Linked DNA regions of Homo sapiens: region 2 is linked to region 1. The links are contacts of gene promoters, found by promoter capture Hi-C in human tissues and cell types (Jung and others, 2019). All regions are on one chromosome and are shown on one strand. Each heading gives the region's core, a stretch centred on a gene start or on the middle of the fragment in contact. The rest is flanking DNA. Distances are from core to core; before and after follow the strand shown.

The links. The method cuts DNA at HindIII sites, captures the fragments that hold promoters and counts their contacts. A contact is called where the count stands out against the background at its distance.
Region 2: a contact is called between a fragment that was not itself captured here and the fragment with the promoter of PDZRN3 in region 1, in 3 of the 25 tissues and cell types used here (aorta, bladder and mesendoderm cells).

What each region holds. Positions count from the first base shown.
Region 1 is chr3:73,622,682-73,627,393 of GRCh38, forward strand. PDZRN3 (PDZ domain containing ring finger 3) reads right to left here and starts at 2,260. Exons shown (of 10, transcript NM_015009.3): 1 at 1,422-2,260. The coding sequence starts at 2,144. It overlaps PDZRN3-AS1 (PDZRN3 antisense RNA 1), which reads left to right and starts at 887. Exons shown (of 2, transcript NR_046681.1): 1 at 887-1,284; 2 at 2,731-4,712. RefSeq lists an enhancer at 1-193. The HindIII fragment of the contact is 5,146 bases long and covers 1-4,440 here.
Region 2 is chr3:73,747,214-73,751,845 of GRCh38, forward strand. No RefSeq gene overlaps it. Among named protein-coding and RNA genes, the nearest start is that of LINC02005, 60 kb to the right of the region's middle. The HindIII fragment of the contact is 6,509 bases long and covers 1-4,632 here.

The DNA.
Region 1 (4,712 bases), core at 1,010-3,509:
AATATGCCCCAAAACTGAGAACTCTGAGGTAGAATCTGAGTCCGGCTCTGCTCCCTGAGTCACTACTTAATTTTGGACAAGTTATATAACTTCTCTGAGTCTGTTCCCTCATCTCAAAGGACAACATAGGTAATGCATGTAAAGTACTTCCTATTGTTGGTGGCACTTAATAAACACTCAATAAATGGTCCTTGTGGTTGCACTGAGGAGCAACATGATAGTTTATAGAACGTGGGCTGGAAAGATGGGCACGCAAAGGTTCAACATGCAGCTTTGCACCCAAAAGCTGTGACCCAGGCATGAAACTGCCCCTTAATGAGCCTCAGTTTTTTCATCTACTAAGTGGGAAGGGTCACACCAACCTCACTTGATTAAAAAGGAAATGACTGGGAAGAATGCAGCACCCAGCCTGGAGCAAAGTAAACCCTCGCTCAAGGGGACCGCTCAGGTGGAGATGTTAAAAATAATTCTAGGTAACACTTGTTGAGCATTTATTTACTCTCTGCCAGGCACAGTACGAGGCCCTTCTACTAAACTCTCTCCCTGAAGCCTGACAAAAACCTTTCGCACTGAGGGAAACTGAGGGATCTGGGAATTAAGCCAGAAGCTCACCCAGCTGGTCAGCAAAAAGCCCAGATTTGAAAACAGTTTTAACTCCAGAGGACTCACACTTAATTATTACTTTATACTTGTTGGGGGCAGAGTGCTCCTTTAATTCTTTCTGAAATCCCTGGATGAATACCTCAGGGGTGCCTGGCTGTGTTTTTACTCTGTATACCACGTCTCTAGGGACCATAGTTTCCAACTTTAGAGAGGTTAAGCAGCTTGCTCAAGGTCAGCCAGCTAGTTGGCTGCAAAGCCCACGCTTGCATCCAGCTTTTACCCCAGAGGCCTCTCTTCTGATATCCTTCTTAACTTAATCTACACTGGCTGTGGGTTCCCTTTATTTTTTTTTCTGGAATCCTAGAGGATGCACGGATACAATTCACCCAATGTGTCCATCTCTCCTCTCCTAAGTGTCAGTCTATAGGTTTCTGACCTCTAGAGGGTAAGCAACTTGCCCGAGATCCCCTAGCTGGTCTGAGCAGCAAAGCCTTTGAACGCAGTTTTGACTCTGGAGCTGCATTCTTCATTCTTATCCTACACTTGCTTGTGAATTCTTTTTCGTCCTTCCAGAATCCCTGAAGCTGTACAGCTATACTTTACCGGTTACGTCTAGACTATAAAGGACCACAGTGTTCCACCTCAGGCAGGTTCAGCGACCTGCAAGTAGTGATACAGCTGGTAAGCAGTGGAAGAAGAGGGAGGAAGCAAGGATGTTCCCGGGAAGCTCGGGGCATCCCTGTACCCAAAGGGATGGGGCGGGGCCCTGGGTCCCCAGGGATCCTGGCTGGAGGTCGGGGCGGGCAGCAGGCGCCTACCTTGCCGCCGGGCGGCGCGGCCACGCAGCGGCTGAGCGAGTCGAGGCGCGCGCTGTATTCGGTGAATTTCTTCTGGTAGCGCAGCGCGGTCATCTGCAGCTCAAGCTGCGCCGCGGCCAGCTGGGCCACCAGCGACTTCTCGCGCTTCCCAGCGCGCAGCGCCTCCTTCTTGAGCGCCTTGTGCAGCGCGCCCAGGCGGGCCTGGAGCGCGCCGTTGTGCGCCCGCAGCGCTCGCGCGCAGCAGTGGCCGCCCGCGCGCTGCTCGCCGTGCGTCAAGGGTAGCCCGCAGCCCTCCTGGCAGCGGCCCACTGGCCGCGCGTCGCAGGCGTCGCGCATGTGCGCCTCCACGTCGCGCCGCAGCAGCACCTGGCCGCAACCCGCGTGGCGACAGCGCGCGGGCGCGAAGTCGCAGCGCTCGAGGTGCTCCGGCAGCTGCTGCAGCTTGACCACCCGGCCGCAGCCGCGCGTCGCGTACGCGCACTTGATGTCCAGCTTGAGGATAAGGCGCTTGAGCGGCAGGACGTGGTTGAGCTCTTTGGCCGACAGGCGACCGCGGCAGCGCGCCGGGCAGCTGCCCTCCTGCACCACCCAGGGCAGCACGCAGCCGGCGCAGAAGACGTGGCCGCACGGCGTGGTCAGCGGGTCCTCCAGGACCTTGTGGCACAGCGCGCACTTCAGGTCCGGGTCCACGTCGCCGTCGAAGCGGTCCAGCTCGAAGCCCATGGTGGCGGCCAGGCCCCGGGGTCGCCGCCGGGCGGCCGGGCGCCCCCTCCCTCCCCACGAGGCGGCCCAGACAGGCCGGCTACGCCGCCCGCGCGCTCGCTGGCTCTCCCCGGACTGAGCCTAATTGATCCAGACTTCCTCGGAAAATGCCCGAGGAACAGGACTCCTCCGGCCGTATTTGCGCGAGCGCGAGCGCACATACATCGTGCCTTGGATGCCTCCCGCCAGCCCCCCGAAAAAGGGAGGAGGCTGGAAGGCAGAAGCGCGTGGGAGGACACTGAGGCTCGCCAGAAGGGACGGGCCAGCCCAGGACGCCAGCCTGAATCTTCTCGGGAAACTCCTTTCTGTTCTCTTACAGTCTACGCTATAGGAGACAAAACGCCAGCCGAGAAAAGCTCGCTGAGTTTGGAGCTGAGGCTACTGCTTTCTCCCAAGGGTTCTCTTCGAGCCCCTTCCCGAACGGATCAAAACTTTTTTACTCCCTTCTCCCTCCCCCTTCCTCTAGTGGCTGATTGCAGAGGACTAAAAATATCTTGGGGCCCGCTATCTCAGCACTTACGGTCTTTATTTATTTATTTCATTCCAGGGAAAGTTACAGAGCCTGCGGGAAGCTCCGGCTGCAACTTCAGTTCTGACCAGAGGTTCTGTGAACCTTCAGGATTTAGCAGGTTTCCAGGACCGGTGGGTGAATCTACCCGGGGAAGTTTTGGTGGACAAGAGCTGCTCGCCAGCTGTCGGAGTGGGAGAGGCCAGCGTGCTGGCTCCATCCACTTCACCTAACACCTCTGAAGTGTCTGCCCTGCAGTGTGGCAAGCGTGGTGCTGAGCGCTTCTAAATCCGTCGCTTTAAAGATCATTAGTACAATGTTGTGAGAGGGTTAGCTCCATTTGAAAATTATTTTCCCGTGATTACAAAAGAAGCGATGCTGACTGCAGAAGTTAGAACTGGGAGAAGACTCATCACCCCCATGATCATGTCAACAACTGCCCTCCTTCAGTTTTGGTTTGTTTTGTGTGTACACTCTGTCATCTTTCCATTGAGGAAACTCAGGCTAGAAGAAGGATAAAAACAAAACAGAAAACAAAACAAAACAAAAGTGCCCTGTAGGGTCCTGTAGGTCAGTGTTTCTCACATTTTAATGTGGTTGCGGTTCTGATACAGTGGGTCTGGGGCGGGTTCTGAGAATCTCCATACTGAAAGCACTTCCAAGTGATGCCAATGCTGCTAGTCCATGCTGGTCCTTGGATTCCCACTTGATTGGAAAACCCTGGCGATCCATAGATCTGGACATTCATTCCCTGCAGTACAGCAAACCTGGCTGGGTAGGATTCAGCAACAGTCCTGAGCAATGGAGGAATATTTTTGGAATTCCAAACTGGGTGTAAAGTTCATAGCATCATCCATTGATTTTATTTTATTTTATTTTTACCTCCCAAGGCTATAGACATTCCTAAGAAACACGCAGTCAGCTTTTGGTGAGAGTGGAATCAAGCTATGGAATTCTCATTTGGAATCTGCTTCCAGTTTCTGAACAGTGAAGCGGGAGAGTTCTGAACAGTAAAGCAGGAGCTCTGTATTCAGCGAGACTCTGGGGCCTGGAAAGTGGGATTACAGCATCCATTTTGTCTAATTGCTTTCCTTCTTTCTTTTATGTGGCTGCTAAAGCCCCATGACCTTCACTATTTAACTGCTTCATCAGAGTGAAAGAATTGCCTTGATGTTCATAAGGATTACTTGTTTCACACTGACCTTTAAAAAGTTGTCACTCACTAGATTTTTCAGTGCATGGTTGAGGTCACTGGACAGTGTTCTTTAATCAGTTTTGGTGGCATTTGTTGCCTATTTGAGGTGGAGACTTTCTTTTAATTGCTTTAATCAATTAATGCATTGCTTTGATAGGATTCTGCATGGGGTGGAATATTATTGGCCTTTGTTCAGATAAGCTTGTGCCAGGGAATCCTCCATCAGTATATTCATTAAACTGCTCATGGGCTCTCAGATAATGGGTAGGAAACAAATTCTTTCACCAAAGGTGTGTGGGCTTGTCAGTTTCACAGAATGAGCTAGTGTCAACAGGGTGATAATCTTCAAACCAAACTGGTTTTGAGAAACAGAGAAGTTCTGTCCTACACCATAAATGTAAATTAGTGCTTACTTGGGGTGTACACTTTTTTGGAGATGTTCTACCACCCCTCGGGTGGTCTCCCAGATGGCAGATTGAGAGGTTGTTGCTGAAATGCTACAGCTGAGGCCACAGAGAAGCCATAGCCTACTGTGGATTGGCCTCTTTAGGCAAAAGGAAAGTCTGTGCCACTCCTCAATGGTTAATTTTAGTATCAAAATTCTTGGAGGTTAGAAAAAAAATCCTACAATGTCAGAGCTGGCAAGACTATTATTTCAGTCACCAAACTTAACAGGAGAAACGAGAGCCAAAAATATTAGGAAAAAGGAGTTGAGGGCAGAGTTACTCAACCTTGGTACTACTGACATTTTCATTCAAATAATTATTTGTTGTGGTGTGTGTGGGGGTGGGGGGTTGGTTATCGTCTGCATTGCAGGATATTTAGG
Region 2 (4,632 bases), core at 981-3,480, 120 kb after region 1:
CTACAAAGCTGAGCATGGTGGCTCACGCCTGTAATCCCAGCAGTTTGGGATGCCGAGGTGGGAAGATCATTTGAGTCCAGGAGTTTGAAAACTGCCTGGGCAACCTAGAGCAAGACCCCGTCTCTACAAAAAAAAAAAAAAAAAAAAAAAAAAAAAAAAAAAAAAAAAATTAACTGGGCTTGGTAGTGCACACGGGAGGATCACTTGAGCACCGGAGATTAGGCTGCAGTGAACTGTGATCATTCCACTGCACTCCAGCCTGGGCAACAGAGAGAGCATGCCTTAAAAAAAAAAAAAAAAAAAGAATTTTTTACAATTTGTACCGCATGCTTTGAGTTGAATAGAGTCATTGAGAAAGTTGGCATGACTTTTAGTTAATAAAATATAAACATCTGAGCAGTTTTGGAAAGTAGCAATATGGAGAAAGATTTTTCAATCTTTCATCCTCAAATTAAATTGTGAGCTCTATCGCAAATCATGGTAGGTGCTATAAGGTCATTAAAACTAACCAGGGGGCCATTTACTGTACTTGATTATGCACTATTATGCACTAATATTAAGCAAGACAAGTGAGAAGCAGGAGCACATTCTAAGATAATGCAGACTTTTTTATGGCATTGACTGATGCTAAAAGAGGAAAATGGATGCATTCATCAGCCACGTGAAACTGTAGGTGACAGAAAAATGTGCTTTGCAAATAAGTGTGTAAATAGTATTTCATTATTTTGAGAACAAATAAAGTACTTGGGTTTTTTGTATCACACCAACTATGGCACAACCACTACCAGCAACTTCCTCCAAGGACATCTACAGTCCTTGTTATGATGGCCTGTAGACAGCAAGTGGTGAAGAGTAAACTCTGGAACGAGGGCACCAGGGATTGACTCCTGGTCCACCATGTATGAACTCTGCGACGTTGGGGCAATGCAGTTAACACCTCTGTGGCTCTGTCTCCTTTGTAGAAAGAAGAGATAATAACAGTACCTGCTCATAGGGTTATGGTGTTGATGTAATGAGTTTATCCATGAAGAGAGCTTAGCACAGCTCCTAGCACATAGTAAGTGTTTGATTGATGTTAGTTATTATCAATACAGTTATTTGGTAAATATGTTTATTCATCCACCTAGAACTCTATAATCATAACGTTATCTAAGAAGAAGAAAGAGGTGTGAGAACTAACATTTATTGAGTACTGTGAGATAGGTCTTGGCTGATTGCTATTTATTATCTTATTAATTCTTTTTATGATCTTAGGTAGTAGATACTATCTCCACAGATGATAAAACAAATTCTAAAAAGGCAAGAAACTCAGAAAGTGACCATCAGCTAAGTTAGGAGAGCTAGTGTCAGCCAACTACAAATCCATGCTTGGGCTTAAGGGTTGGGGATGTAGATTTAATTTCACCTACATCTCTTATAAACTCTCTGATCTTGGGCAATTTAACTTCTTTAAACTAAGTGGATACTGATAGACACTACCTCACAGATATGGCAGAAATATTAAATGAAATATTAATATGTAAATGTTTACCATAATACTCAGTACTTGAAAGATGGTAAAGTCAATAGCCTTAGTCATTATAATGTAATTTCTCTGTGTACTTGTGGCTCTGTGTTCCGCCATCCTGGCATTTGTCACATTGTTAACCCACCCATCACCACTGTGGGAGTGAGAACGCTGTGTATTAGTGGTTACCCCAACCATATTGATCACTGCGTGTCCTCTGCTCCTGACACACAGGTTTAATACACATCAGGTATTCAAGAAACGCAATAAATGTTTGTTGCATGACTAAATAAATCCCTTTTTATATTTAAGTCATCCATCCTTGTGTTTACATTGAAAGTTTAAAAAGAACGCACAAGAACTGAAATTCAAAAAAAATTCTCCTCTTAATCTTAAGGGAACTTAGCTAAAGAAACTTATTCTGGTTCCTTCCTTAATTTGTCTCAAACAACTGATATCTTATGGACAACTCTAATAGGCCTCTTATCTCTCTTTTGCCCTGTAAATAAAGAGAAAGAGAGCGATCCATCGAAACAGGAAGTTATCATGGTCAACCTGGTACCTTAAAGACTCTGCCTAGTGTCACAGCCCCATCACCATCACTTTGTTACCACCATTAGCTCTTTCTCTGTGGAGCAAACTATAACAAGACCTTATAAACAATATCTTCTTTAATCCTACCTGAAATTTATACATGAGAATTCTCATTCCTATTTTCTCAGGGGAGAAAAAGAAAGTTCAGAAAGGTTAAGTGACTTGCCCAAGTTCACACAGCAGGAATATGTCAGAGTAAGGGCTGGAGGACCACTTAATCTGACCCCCAAGGGGTGCCTGAGGTCAGTACCCCTTAGTATATCCCATTTTTAACCATTCTACAAATATTTATTGAGTACCTACCATTAAAGGAGTTGATTCTTTCTAAAGAGGTTAGAATAACATCAGGCACAGAATAAGTGCTGTGTGCCCTTGATAAATAAGTAAACAAATAAATAAGTCAGTCAGTAAGTTCTTGGCTTGATTGGAATATATCAGTGAACAAAGCATATCACCATCCTTGCTTTTGTGAAGCTTACATGTATGGAGGGAACAGAGTATGGTAGAAGGTCATACATTTGACGGAGAAAGTAGAGCAGGATAGAGGGGATCCATCAGGAATGTCCGTGGGGTTGTAGGTTGCAGTATTTAATTGGTGGTCAGGGTAGGACTTATTGAGAGGATGAAACCTGAGTAAAAAGTTGTGGCTATCTCAGGGAAGGGGGCTCCTGGCAGGAGAACAGCTGGAGCAAAGGCCTGAGGGGGACTGAGAAACAGTACATAGACCAGTGTGTCTGGACTGGAGTGAGCGGGGCTAGCAAGGCAGGAAATGAAGCCAGAGTGGGGACACCTGTGTAGGGTATCCTGGTCCTGGCTGCTTTACTTAGATCCCATCTTCTGACCCCTATAGTCCAGGAATTTACAATTCCTTCTTGGGGCCAGTTAGAAAGTCTCAGTAACCCCACCCAATGCGTGACCCCTTCCAATGCTTGTCCCCACATGGCAAACAAAGCCATATTTGTAGAATGGTTAAAAATGGGATATACCAAAGGGTACTGACCCCAGGTACACCTTGGGGGTCAGATTAAGTGGTCCTCCAGCCCTCACTCTGACGTATTCCTGCTCTGACCTTGGGCAAGTCACTTAACCTTTCTGCTTGACACCTTTAGGGATGAGAGCATTAAGATAGAATGCTCAAGCATCAGCTGGTTGGCAGGGTCTGCTGGACCCATGGATATTAGATACCATAAAGGGGAAGGGTTATCTGGGGGACTGCATACCTGTAATATCTGTCAGCCATGCACAGATATTGTAGGAGCCAAAACTGATTTGAAGAAAATGAACATGTAACTGAGGCAAGGGCTTTCTGGGAAAATAAAAAGCTGAGCATCAGCAACAGCCCCAAAGTAATTCATATTAAATAGATACATTTAATTCAATTCCATTTAATTTAATACAATTAAATCGCTATGTAGTAACTGCCTTCTATGTGCAAGTCACAGTGGGGAATACAAGAGAATTTTATGACAGGGAGTGAAATTTCAGGCATTTTGAAGTATTGGAAGGAGCAGTAATATTTGGATTTAAGAGTATGGGTTGGCAAACTTTCTCTGTGAAGAACCAGATAGTAAATATTTTAGGCTTTGCAGGTGATACAGTCTGTGTTGCAACTCTTCACCTCTGCTGTTGTAGTGTGGAAGCAGCCATGGTAATATGGAAACAAATGGATGTGGCTATGTTCCAATAAAACTTTATTTACAAACACAGGAAGGAGTGAGGATGTGGCTCATGGGAAGCAATTTGCTGACTGCTGAGTTCAACTGTATTCCATTGATTCTGTAGATGTTGATATCCACTGAGTGTCCCTACTCACGGCTAGGACCGTGTTTAGTGCTCCTCCTCCTATCTAATCCTAACATAATATTCTAGCATAAATATTATTGTCCCTATTTTACATATGAAGAAGAAATAGAGGCTCTGCCCAGAGAGGGTAAGATAATTGTTTAGGTCACACAGTGATTAAGTTACAGACCTGAGAAGTGAATCATGGCACATAATTCCACACAGCATATTCTCTCTATTACAAGCCACTGTATCTCACAGAAGAGCCAGCACAGATAATCAGATGTTTAGGCCTCTGCCTAAAGCATGAAAGACTACACGGAATTGAATTATTAGTCACTGGGTATCTTACAATTATAATGTTCATTTCAGCTTTGGAGAAGGAAAATAAAGATGTTTCCACTTTGCCTTCACTCGCATGTATGTGAACTTCCCTCCAGAAATTTCCAAGCTGCTTGATTTGCAGGTTCTGCATACCTCTTGGAAACAGTCTGTGCCTTTGTGAATAACACAGGGGGTCTTTTAGGCTATGGGAGAATAAATTAACACTCTCTCTGTTCGATGCAATGGACTGGCAAATTTGAGAACGAAGTTAGCAGAGCAAAATGCAAACATACTCCTCGAGTCAGGTGAAAACCTGCGACTTGTACAGAAGTAATAATGCTGCCACCAGACCACCCTCTCTTCATTCTTCTATGCCTGCTTCTCACAGTGCTCAAGTCACATCAGCATTCTTTCTGTCCACAAAC